3 separate regions of the Homo sapiens genome follow, and all the other regions are linked to region 3. The links are contacts of gene promoters, found by promoter capture Hi-C in human tissues and cell types (Jung and others, 2019). All regions are on one chromosome and are shown on one strand. The core of a region is centred on a gene start or on the middle of the fragment in contact, and the rest is flanking DNA. Distances in the headings are between cores, read along the strand shown.

The links. Contacts are between HindIII fragments. The study calls those that stand out against the background at their distance.
Region 1: the fragment with the promoter of EFCAB12 here is called in contact with the fragment with the promoter of COPG1 in region 3 in 1 of the 25 tissues and cell types used here (spleen).
Region 2: a fragment that was not itself captured here is called in contact with the fragment with the promoter of COPG1 in region 3 in 1 of the 25 tissues and cell types used here (lymphoblastoid cells).

Annotation. Positions count from the first base shown.
Region 1 is chr3:129,426,243-129,430,084 of GRCh38, forward strand. It overlaps EFCAB12 (EF-hand calcium binding domain 12), which reads right to left and starts at 2,394. Exons shown (of 9, transcript NM_207307.3): 1 at 2,198-2,394. The coding sequence starts at 2,246. RefSeq lists a silencer at 2,531-2,580. The HindIII fragment of the contact is 10,320 bases long and covers 1-3,842 here.
Region 2 is chr3:129,074,295-129,078,218 of GRCh38, forward strand. No RefSeq gene overlaps it. Among named protein-coding and RNA genes, the nearest start is that of GP9, 15 kb to the left of the region's middle. The HindIII fragment of the contact is 5,728 bases long and covers 1-3,924 here.
Region 3 is chr3:129,247,131-129,250,956 of GRCh38, forward strand. COPG1 (coat protein complex I subunit gamma 1) reads left to right here and starts at 2,476. Exons shown (of 24, transcript NM_016128.4): 1 at 2,476-2,616; 2 at 3,552-3,604. The coding sequence starts at 2,580. The HindIII fragment of the contact is 12,995 bases long and covers 1-3,826 here.

The DNA.
Region 1 (3,842 bases), core at 1,144-3,643, 180 kb after region 3:
CTTCTGTATGCTGGGGACATCCATACCAATATTTTTGACTTGGAATTAGCTCCAAGTTTATACCTCCAGTTGTTCCTAAAACATCTCCACTTGGATGGCTTACAGGGTTTTTTTTTGTTTTTTTTTTTTTTTTTTTTTTTGAGACGGACTCTTGCTCTGTTTCCCAGGCTAAAGTGCAGTGGCACGATCTCGGCTCTCTGCAAGCTCTGCCTCCCGGGTTCACGCCATTCTCCTGCCTCAGCCTCCCGAGTACCTGGGACTACAGGTGTCTGCCACCACGACCGGCTAATTTTTTGTATTTTTAGTAGAGATGGGGTTTCACTGTGTTAGCCAGGATGGTCTCGATCTCCTGACCTGGTGATCCGCCCACCTCAGCCTCCCAAAGTGCTAGGATTACAGGCGTGAGCCACGGCGCCCGGCCGGGGATCTTTTTTTATTATTTATTTTTAATTGAGACAGGGTCTTGCTCTGTTCCCCAAGCTGGAGTACAGTGGCTCAATCATAGCTCACTGCAGCCTTGAACTCCTGGGCTCAAATGATCCTCCCAGCTCAGCCTCCTGAGTAGCTGGGACTACAGGTGCATGCCATTAAGCCTAGCTAACCTTTTTTTTTTTTTTTTTTTTGAGATGGTGTCTTGCTCTGTCACCCAGGCTGGAGTGCAATGGCATGATCTTGGCTCACTGCAAGCTCCACCTCCCTGGTTCATGCCATTCTCCTGCCTCAGCCTCCTGAGTAGCTGTGACTACAGGCGCCTGCCACCATGCCCGGCTAATTTTTTGTATTTTTAGTAGAGACGGGGTTTCATTGTGTTAGCCAGGATGGTCTTGATCTCCTGACCTCGTGATCCACCCACCTCAGCCTCCTAAAGTGCTGGGATTACAGGCGTGAGCCACCCCACCAGGCCTGGCTAACTTTAAAAAACAATTTTGTAGAGATGGGATCTCACTATGTTGCCCAGGCTATTCTCAAACTCCTGGGCTCAAGCAATCCTCCTGCCTCAGCTTCCCATAGTGCTGGGATTACAGGCGTGAGATACTGTGCCCAGCTACTGACAAGGATCTTAAACTCAACCAACCAAGACTGGATTTGTCTTTGTGCCCCTTCCCCCACTAACTGGGTCCTCTGAGTACGTTCTCTTATCTCTGTGGAAGACATCTCCATCTACCAGGTCCCCCAGCTGCCAACTTGAGAACCATCTTTATTTGCCTCTTCTGTGTTTCCTGACCAACCAGCCCCCAAGTCCCGTAGTTCCCTCTAGCCTGGGCCTTCTCCCTCACCTCCCAGCATCTTTAGCTTGGGCATTTGACCAGAGCCCTGACCTGTGTGCCTGGGAAAGGTGGCCAGCCTCTCCAGCTCTCCCTGTTTCTCCACTGGGCATTAATGTGTTCAGTGCTGGAGAAGCGGCATGGAGAAGACCTTCAGTCTTCAAGCTTTATAGCCCCCAGCTCTCATCTCCCCACACCAACATTCTGAGTCTGCCAACTCAGTCTCAGGTCTTTTCTGACTGCTCCCAATCCAGTCCTGCCACTCCCAGTGGCCTCTCCATCTCCTGGCTTGCAGTATCTTTTATGATCTTGTCCCTTCTGACCTCTCTCACCTCATTTCCAGAGACACCAGACCTCTTGGGTCATGCTGTTTCCTTGCCCGAAATGCTTTTCCTTCCCCTTTTGGCTTGGAGAACTCCTTTTTATCCTTTAAGCTCCAGTGTAAAGATCTTTTCCAAAAGCTTGGAACTGTTCCTCCCCATCCCATACCCTCAGCACACCTTTTACTCCTGGGTGTCATCCCTGGGCCCGGCATTTACCCCTTCTTATTCTGTAATTATCCATTTATCTCTGTCCTTTACCCGTGAAGCTGCATTGCTTTGCCAAGAACTTGGTCCCCAGCACATTACTGCCAAAACCTTGAAGACTGACGTCTTCTCCATGCCTCTCCTCCAGTACTGAATACATTAATGTCCTGCAGAGAAACAGGGCGAGCTGGAGGGCTCCCGTCACATGGGTCGGGCCTCTGGTTCCTCCAACTAGGCTCAGATAGAAATCTCAGAAATGTACATGACCTGCCCCCGACTCCATGGCAACCCTTCACCCAGAGGGGGTCGGCACAATATCTGTGGCTGAGTTTTTGCCCTCACCCCACTTTCACGCGTCCTTAGGGCGCTGAGCGCTCCCTGCAGACGCTTCTTCCCGGGGCTTACCGAGCAGCGACAAGAACAGACTGTGGTACGCTTCATAGTCGTCGTCCATGGTCGTGGTGCTGGGAGGGGGTGCTGAAGGGCGTGTGTGAATGTGTGTCGATGTGGGCTTGCTTGCGTAGGGGTACCGGGGTATCAGATAAACCGTAACTCCAAGTCGTGCGAAAGGCGCTCAGCTCAGACTGCAGAAGCAACCTGTTGCCGTGGCTACGGACGCCCCGCGCCAATTGGCTGAGCGCTGTCACGTGTTAAGAGCGAGCCCGCCCTGCCGAGCGCCTGCTGGCCCCACCTCGTTTTCGTCCAATTCTGGGAGGGGCAGCGAGCAAATCCACGCCCCGCCCAGTTCTGGGCTTGGTGAAAGGCGGGATTTCTTTGTTCGGCCCAGTAGTCCCTGAATCCAGTGTAGAAAGTCTCCGGTTTTCCCGTGAAATGTGGGATCTTCCGCAGGTCTCCATATCTCTAGGCCTCAGTTTTCTCATAGGAAAAATAGGCCCTGCCTCCTCCAGAGGGTTAGGAAGAACCAAAGTGAGCTGTGGCCAGATAGAGGTGTTGGGTATGTTCTGCCCCGCTTATGGCAGGGTGCCATGGTTTGGAGTTACAGAACCTGAGGACCAGAGAATAATAATAAACCCTTGAAATGTGCATCAACTGATAAGCAAAATGAGGTATATCCATAGGATGGCCATAAGAAGGAATGAAGTACATGCTACAATATGGATAAACCTTCAAAACAGTATGCTAAGCAAGAAGCTAGACACAAAAGGCCACGTGCTGTATGATTCCATTTATGTGAAATGTTCAGCATAGACGAACCCACAGACACGGAAAGTAGATGAATGGTTGCTAGGGGATGGGGTGAGTAATTGAAGTGACTGCTAACAGGTGGAGAGATTCTTTTTGGAGTGGAAAAAAGAAATGGAAACTTCTGGAATTAGTGATGATGGCTGCACACTGTAAATGTACTAAACCACTGAACTGTACACTTTAAAATGGTTAAATGGTGGCTTTTAGCTCAATTTTTAAAAAGTTAAAGAGAAACACCTAAGCCCTTATTCCTTTGCTGAGACAAGCTATCTTTGTGACGCTTGCAAACAGATTGTTGCCATGGGCCACATTCACACAGCACTCTTGCAAGCCAGGTACCATTTTAGCACTACATGTCTGAACTTCATAATTACCATCATTGTGTGAGGTAGACACCACTATCCCATTTTTAAAAGACAAGTTAACAGGTACAGAGGTCAGGCAACCTCACCTGCAAGAAACAGGAAAAGCCAGGCCTAGAGCCTGAGCAACCTGGCTGTGTCCTGAGCTCCCCTGGTGCAGAGCTCGCCTCCTGCATTCACACGGGCCCACACTCCCCATGGAGATGCTGGGGGAAGGTATGTGACCACCAGCCCTACCACAAAGCCACACCTGATGCCCTGAGCTTGGTGAGCTCGCCCCACCCTCCAGGCCCAGCTGGGCCCAAGGTTTCAGAGGCCCCTCTCCACCCTCTTTGGGTGTCTTGTCCCTACTCCTTACCGCTTTTGTTCCCTTCCATTATTAGGTGCCCTTCTTTCTCTCTGTGAGGGTCTGTACAGAACTTGTTTATCTTTGTGCCCCTCCCCACCACAGGGCTTTACACTTTGTGAATGCTACTTGGATG
Region 2 (3,924 bases), core at 1,252-3,751, 170 kb before region 3:
TCAGGAGATCGAGACCATCCTGGCTAACATGGTGAAACCCTGTCTCTACTAAAAATAAACAAAATTAGCCTGGCGTGGTGGCGGGCGCCTGTAGTCCTAGCTACTCGGGAGGCTGAGGCAGGAGAATGGCGTGAACCCGGGAGGCGGAGTTTGCAGTGAGCCGAGGTGGCGCCACTGCACTCCAGCCTGGGTGACAGAGAGAGACTCCGTCTCAAAAAAAAAAAAAAAAAAAATAATAATAATAATAAAAGGCCTGAAATTGAAATCCAGCCCCCTCCAGAGACAGATTTCTTCCTAACTTTGACTGAATATCCTTCCAGGCTTTCTCCCCAAAATGTGTGTGTATATATACATATGTGGGTGGGTACGTGTGTATATACACACCCATATATTTAAATATATATTTACGATTATTTTATTTATGAGAGTAATTGAGAACATATTTTCATGGTTCATCTGTTTCTACTTAGTCAATTTTTTTTTTTGAGACTGAGTCTCACTCTGTCTCCCAGGCTGAGAGGCAGTGGTGCGATCTCAGCTCACTGCAACCTCGACCTTCTGGGCTCAAGCTAACCTCCCATCTCAGCCTCCCTGAGAAGCTGGGACTACAGGAGCACGCTACCATACCTGGCTAATATATTTTTGTAGAGACAGGATTTTGCCATGTTGGCCAGGCTGGTCTCGGACTCCTGAGCTCAAGTGATCCACCCACCTTGGCTTCCCAAAGTGCTGTGATTACAAGCGTGAGCCACCATGCCTGGCCTACTTAGTCATTTTTAATTTTATTGTATTCATTCATTTTATTTTTATTAATTCATCTTTTATTGAGGAACATTTAAGTTTGGGTGTGAAATTGCAATGATAAACAGCTATTCAGCTTATTTCACTTACTGGCATTTTCCAATCAATAGTAGAATTCCAATCACTACTTCAATCAAATCCTTCATGAAGATCATTTCTATGTCACTCCTTTTCTGGGATATCTAGGTTGTTTCCAAGTCCCCCCTGCCCCCACAAATGGCATTATGTCTTAGTTTGTTTGTGTCTCTATAAAGGAATACCTGAGACTGGGTAATTTATAAAGAAAAGAGGTTTATTTGGCTCACAGTTCTGCAGGCTGTTCAGGAAGCCTGGCGCCAGCATCTGCTCCTAGTGAGACCTCAGGGAAGCTTTCACTCATGTTGGAGGTGAAGGGGAGCTGGTGGGTCACACGGTGAGAGAGGGAGCAGGAAAGAGGGGAGGGAGTTGCCAGGCAGCTCTTTTTGAAAATCAGGTCTCTTGGGAACTAACATAGTGAGCATTCACTCATTATCTCATTAGTGTGAGGACTGCACCAAGCCATGAGGGGTGCGCTCCCATGACCCACCTTCCACCAGGCCTCACCTTCAACATTGGGGATCACATTTTAACATGAGATTTGGAGGGGTCAAATAGCAAACCAGGCCAGGTGCAGTGGCTCACGCCTGTAATCCCAACACTTTGGGAGGCCGAGGTGGGCGGATCACCTGAGGTCAGAAGTTTGAGACCAGCCTAGCCTGGCCAACATGGTGAAACTCTCTATCTCTCCTAAAAATACAAAAATTAGCCAGGCATGGTGGTGGGCACCTGTAATCCCAGCTACTTGGGAGGTTGAGGCAGGAGAATCGCTTGAACTTGGGAGGCAGAGGTTGCAGTGAGCTAAGATCACACCATTCATTGCACTCCAGCCTGGATGACAAGACTGAAATTCCGTCAGAAAAAAAAAAAAAAGGAAACCATAGCACATTGTATTTGAATTCTTTGTACATAAAAATTTTTCCACATCTAGATGTGTTTTCTTGGGACAGAATCCCCAAAGTTGATTTGGGAAAAAGTAAAGTTTGGCCAAGTGCAGTGGCTCACACCTGTAATCCCAACACTTTGGGATGCCAAGGTGGGTGGATTGCTTGAGGCCAGGAGTTGGAAACCAGCCCGGCCAACATGGCATAACCCTGTCTCTACTAAAAATACAAAAACCAGCTGGGCGTGGTGGCACACACCTGAAATCCCAGCTACTCGAGAGGCTGAGGCACGAGGCGGAGGGAGGTTGCAGTGAATCAAGATTGCACCATTGCACTCCAGCCTGAATGACAGAGTGAGACCCTGTCTCAAAATAAATAAATAAATAAATAAATAAAATAAAGTAAGTTCATTTGGAGAGTCAAAGTTCAGATGCATTTTCTTTGTTTTTTGTTTGTTTGTTTTTCTGAGACAGAGTTTTGCTCTGTTGCCCAGGCTGGAGTGCAGTGGAGCAATCTCAGTTCACTGCAACCTCTGCCTCCCAAGTTCAAGCGATTCTCTTGCCTCAGCCTCCTCAGTAGCTGGGACTACAGGTATGCGCCACCACACCCAGCTAATTTTTGTATTTTTGGTAGAGATGGGGTTTCACCATGTTGGCCACGCTGGTCTCGAACTCCTGGGCTCAAGTGATCCACCCATGTTTGCCTCCCAAGGTGCTGGGATTACAGGCATGACCCAACATGCTCGGCCCCAGATGCATTTTCTTTTCTTTTTTTTTTTGAGATGGAGTCTTGCTCTGTTGCCCACGCTGAAGTGCAGTGAGTGATCTCAGCTCATTGCAACTTCCGCCTCCCGGGTTCAAGTGATTCTCCTGCCTCAGCCTCCCGAGTAGCTGGGATTACAGGCACTTGCCACCATGCCCGACTGATTTTTGTACTTTTGGTAGAGACAGGGTTTCACCAGGTTGGCCAGGCTGGTCTCGAACTCCTGACGTCGGGTGATCCACCTGCTTTGGTCTCCCAAAGTGCTGGATTACAGGTGTGAGCCACCTCACCTGGCCCCCAGATGCATTTTCAATAGCAAGAATTTTCCCTCTTCCTTCTCATTCCTCTCCCCACCCCACTTAAAATAAAGTTGGCCCTAAAGTGCTGGATGAAGAAAGGAAAAAAGTCAGCAGGGCAGAAATCATCATTACAAATACTCTGGAGTGCAAAGAATTGACCCTGTGTCTGAATGTCCCCTGGAAAATAAACATTGGCATCCGTGTATTAGTCAGCGTTCTCCAGAGAAATGACCAATAGGAAGCGTGTACAGAGAGAGTTGAAGGAATTCGTTCACATGATGATGAAGGTTGGCAAGTCGAAAACCTGCGTGCTGGACCAGCAGTCTGGAGAGCCAGGGACACAGAATCACAGGTCAAGTCCAAAGGCTGTTGCTGCAGATCCCCTCTTGCTCAGGGGAGGTCAGTCTTTTTGTTCTTTTCAGGCCTTCAACTGACTGGATGAGGCCCACCCGATTACAGAGGGCAATCTGCTTTTCTCAAAGTCCACTGTTGAAATGCTAATCTCATCCAAAACACCCTCACAGAAACACCCAGAATAATATTTGACCACATATCTCAATACTAGGGCCCAGCAAAGTTGGCACACAAAATAACCATCACAGTCTGTAATGTTTGTTTGCTTAATCATATACTTGGCATGGCCGGGTGCAGTGGCTCTCTCATGTAATCCCAGCTCTTTGGGAGGCTTGAGGGTCAGGAGTTCGAGACCAGCCTGGCCAAGAGGGTGAAACTCCATCTCTACTAAAAATACAAAAATTAGCTTGGTGTGGTGGTGCACGCCTGTGGTCCCAGCTACTTGGGAGGCTGAGACAGGAGAATCGTTTGAACCCAGGAGGCAGAGCTTGCTGTGAGCTGAGATCGCGCCACTGCACTCCAGCCTTGGTGAAAGAGCAAGACTTTGTCTAAAAAAAAAAAAAAAAAACATCATATACTTGGCAGTACTAATTACAGTGGAAACACCTCTTTGGTTTCCTTTTTTTTTTTTTTTTTTGAGACAAGTTCCTACTCTGTTGCCCAGGCTGGAGTGCAGTGCCACAATCATGGCTCACTGCAGCCTCTACCTCTCCTACTCAAGCAATCCTCCCACCTCAGCCTCCCGAGTA
Region 3 (3,826 bases), core at 1,226-3,725:
AGTGCGGACAGGTACATAAACTTTTTTTAATATACTAAAACCCACTGAATTGTACACCTATTTATATATGCATGTGTGTGTGTGTGTGTGTGTGTGTGTATATATATATATATGTATATACACTTTTTTTTTTTGAGACAGAGTCTCGCCCGTCACCCAGGCTGGAGTGCAATGGCACGATCTTGGCTCAGGGCAACCTCCACCTCCTGAGCAATTCTCCTGCCTCAGCCTCCCGAGTAGCTGGGATTACAGGCATCTGCCACCATGCCCAGTGAATTTTTATATTTTTAGTAGAGACGGGGTTTCACCATGTTGGTCAGGTTGGTCTCAAACTCTTGACCTCAGGTGATTCACCCTCCTCAGCCTCCCAAGTGCTGGAGGCGTGAGCCACCTCGCCTGGCCACCCCTATGTATTTTTTGAGACAGGGTCTTGCTCTGTTGCCCACGCTGGAAGTACAGAGGCATGATCATGGCTCACTGCAGCCTTGACCTCCCAGGCTTAAGCAATCCTCCCATCTCAGACTCCTGGAGTAGCTGAGACAAGATAAAAATCAGTTTAGTCCTCAGATGTACCATAACTTCCTTAATCATCCCTTTATTGATAGACATTTAGGGTGTTTACAATTATTTTGCTGCAAACTGCTGCAGCAGGCAACTTCATTTTCTTTTTTCTTTTTTTTGAGACAGTTTCGCTTTTGTTGCCCAGACTCCAGGCTGGAGTGCAACGGCGTGATCTCAGCTCACTGCAGCCTCCGCCTCCCAGGTTCAAACGATTCTCCTGCCTCAGCCTCCCGAGTAGCTGGGATTACAGGTATGCACCACCACGCCAGGCTAATTTTTTTTTTTTTTGTATTTAGTAGAGATGGGGTTTCACCATGTTGGTCAGGCTGCTCTCAAACTCCTGACCTCAGGTGATCCACCTGCCTCAGCCTTCCAAAGTGCTGGGATTACAGGCTTGAGACACTGCGCCCGGCCTCATTTTCTTCTTTTGAACAATTTCCTCCTGATTAGGGGTGGGGTTACCGATCAGACATTTTGAACATCTTTCTGACTCTTGACAATTTTGCATGTCACAAGATCTGTTGTCCTTGGCCCTAGCCTCTGCAAAGCCAGACCCTAAGGGCTGGCCCCTCTGACATCTCCCTTCCTCCAGCTTTGCGGTCACCCTTTTCACCTGGGGCCTCTGCCTCAGCCTCCTGCCTCTCCTCTCCACAGCCCACTCCTTCTCCTGCCCACAGGCCTGCGGGCTTCCCCTCCCCAGGCAAGCTGGGGCCGTGTCGCAGCGCTTGGCCATCACGACTTTGCCATTGCCAATGCAATCTGGCTCACTGGCATGCACTGTGCTTACCTTAGCCTCAGGGTGTCCTGCATAGGTCCCCAGGAAGATAAACCCTGGGTGATGTGTCATTTTCCCCTTTCCGTTCCTTCCCACGCCCTTCCCCCCACCTCCCCGCGTAGGCAGCGCATCTAGTTGGCACTCCATAAATATCCAAAGTATTTACAAAATAACGTAGAAGTTCTATGCTGTTTAGTTAGATCTCTTAAGGTTGATAATGTACAAGGCAATTTGCATCAGGAGCAGACGAGATAGGGCCCGGCAGATATAAATTAAAAATGCAATTGCACGCATTCATTCAACGAGAACTCACTGAGCAACTACTATGTGCCAACATTATCCACTGCAGTGAATAAAAGACAAACAAACAAGCAAATAACAAAAAAAAAAACAAAAGAGCAAGAAAGTGGCCGGGTGCAGTGGCTCACCGCTGTAATCCCAGCACTTTGGAAGGTCGAGAAAGGAGGATCGCTTGAGGCCACGAGTTCAAGACCAGACTGGGCAACATCATAGTGAGACCTCGTCTCTACAAAAATTAAAAAATTAGTCGGGGGTGGTGCGCCCAGCTCTACTCGGGAGGCTGAGGTGGGAGGATCGCTTGAGCCCAGGAACTGTAGGCTGCAGTGAGCCAGGATCGCACAACTGCACCACAGCCTGGGCAGCAGAACGAGAAATAAATAAACAAATAAAAGCCAGAAAGTAAAAATAAAGTGTTAGATGGCGATTCGAGCTGAGGAGGAAATCAGGCAGGGGAAAGAATCTGAAAGCGAGGAGTGAGTGGCTGGCAAGGCTCCTTCGGAAGGTGGCAATAACAGTCATAGACCGGTCACATCAATTGGGTGTTTACTGCGGGCCAGTGTGTGCCACCAACCTCACACCCGAAAGCCACAAAGACTCACGCCACAACGCAACGAGGCAGGGGCTCCTCCTCCTCCCTTGGTATACGGAAAGAAGCGTAGGGAGCAGAGTTGGGATGCTAGTCAGTACCCCCCTGCACCTAGCCCTTGCCCCTCCGTCTGGCTTTCCCCACTCCCGCTCCGGCGGAGCTAAGGTTAACATTAGACGAGGCTGTGGCTACCGGAAAGAGCGCAGGCGCAGAGCGCGGAATGCGCCTGCGCAGAGCGCTGGGCGACGTGGCCAGTCGGGGCCCGGAAGTGGTCCCTGTAGAACCACTGTGGCACCGCTACTCCGTGCCGCGCCCGTCGAGCATTGCGTTGCTGCATTGCGCCCCACCGACTCCACTATGTTGAAGAAATTCGACAAGAAGGATGAGGAGTCAGGTGAGGGGGCCAGGCCTGGGTCTGAGGGAGGCCGGACCCCCACCCGCCGAGCTTTCCTTCTGGTTCTCTGTCCTGACCCGGAGGCTGAGGCCCAGTGAGGGGCAGGGGCTTGTGCCAGGGTCCACAGCTAGTCAGTGGCAGGCCTCGGAGAGCCCGAGCATGCGCGGCTGTCTCACTCTTGTAAGCTCGGACTGCAATTTTCTGGGTGACCTTGGGCGCGACAAACACCCCCCCCCCCAGGCCTCAATTTACCCATCTGTCAAAGGAGGGGACCATGCCGAATGTTCTCTTGTTACTTTCTTCGTCCAACCTCTTGGGATTCGCTGGGGCTACGTTGGTGCTGGCCAAACTGGGGTGTAACCTGCGGAGCCAGCGTCCTGTGACTGGGAACTCTGACCCCATCATTCATTTATTCAGCAAAGTATATTGAGCAGTTACTGTATGCCAGGTACTGTACGGTGTCCTGGATACTGCAACAGAGCAAGTGGGACACTCAGTGCCTGAGCTAGGAATATTAGAATGGTTGCACCCACGATGGAGGAGGCAGACATCAACCAGATAATCACACGTGTAATTATTTGCAAATGTGTCATCTGCTATGAAGGAACTAGTTACAACGAGATGGTGGTCCCTGGCACATAGGGACTTAGTTAATTACAAGTTATATAAATGAACACAAGACATGGCACCATGAGAAGCACAGGACTGTACCAGGGCTGCTGGGAGATTGTGAGTGGTTTGGGGTAGAGTGGAGCCCACCTGCTTGCAGGAGACTAGTAGGATCCCTAGACAGATTGTAGAGGCTTGATTGCCATTCCTGAGGAGTTTGAACTTTACTAGATTTCCTAGGAAGGGACATCTTCCCTTTACCTATGTCTGGGAGAGTTTTGAAGTTCAGAGTCACAACCTACCTTCTCCATTGTCCTTGACCGTAGGTGGAGGCTCCAACCCATTCCAGCACCTTGAGAAGAGTGCGGTACTCCAGGAGGCAAGTGACATTTGCTCCCCTCTAGCTTCCATCATAAATATTCACCACCAATGCAACTGAAATACCAACACATTCAAAGTGTTGTTTTAAAGAGCAACACGGGAGAAAACTTGTGCCTGGAAGTTTTCTGGAAGACAGGAAAACTTTGTTTCTGGAGAGAGTTAGTTATGCTTACTTCTTTTTTTTTTTTTTTTTTTTTTTTTTTCTGAGACAGAGTCTTGC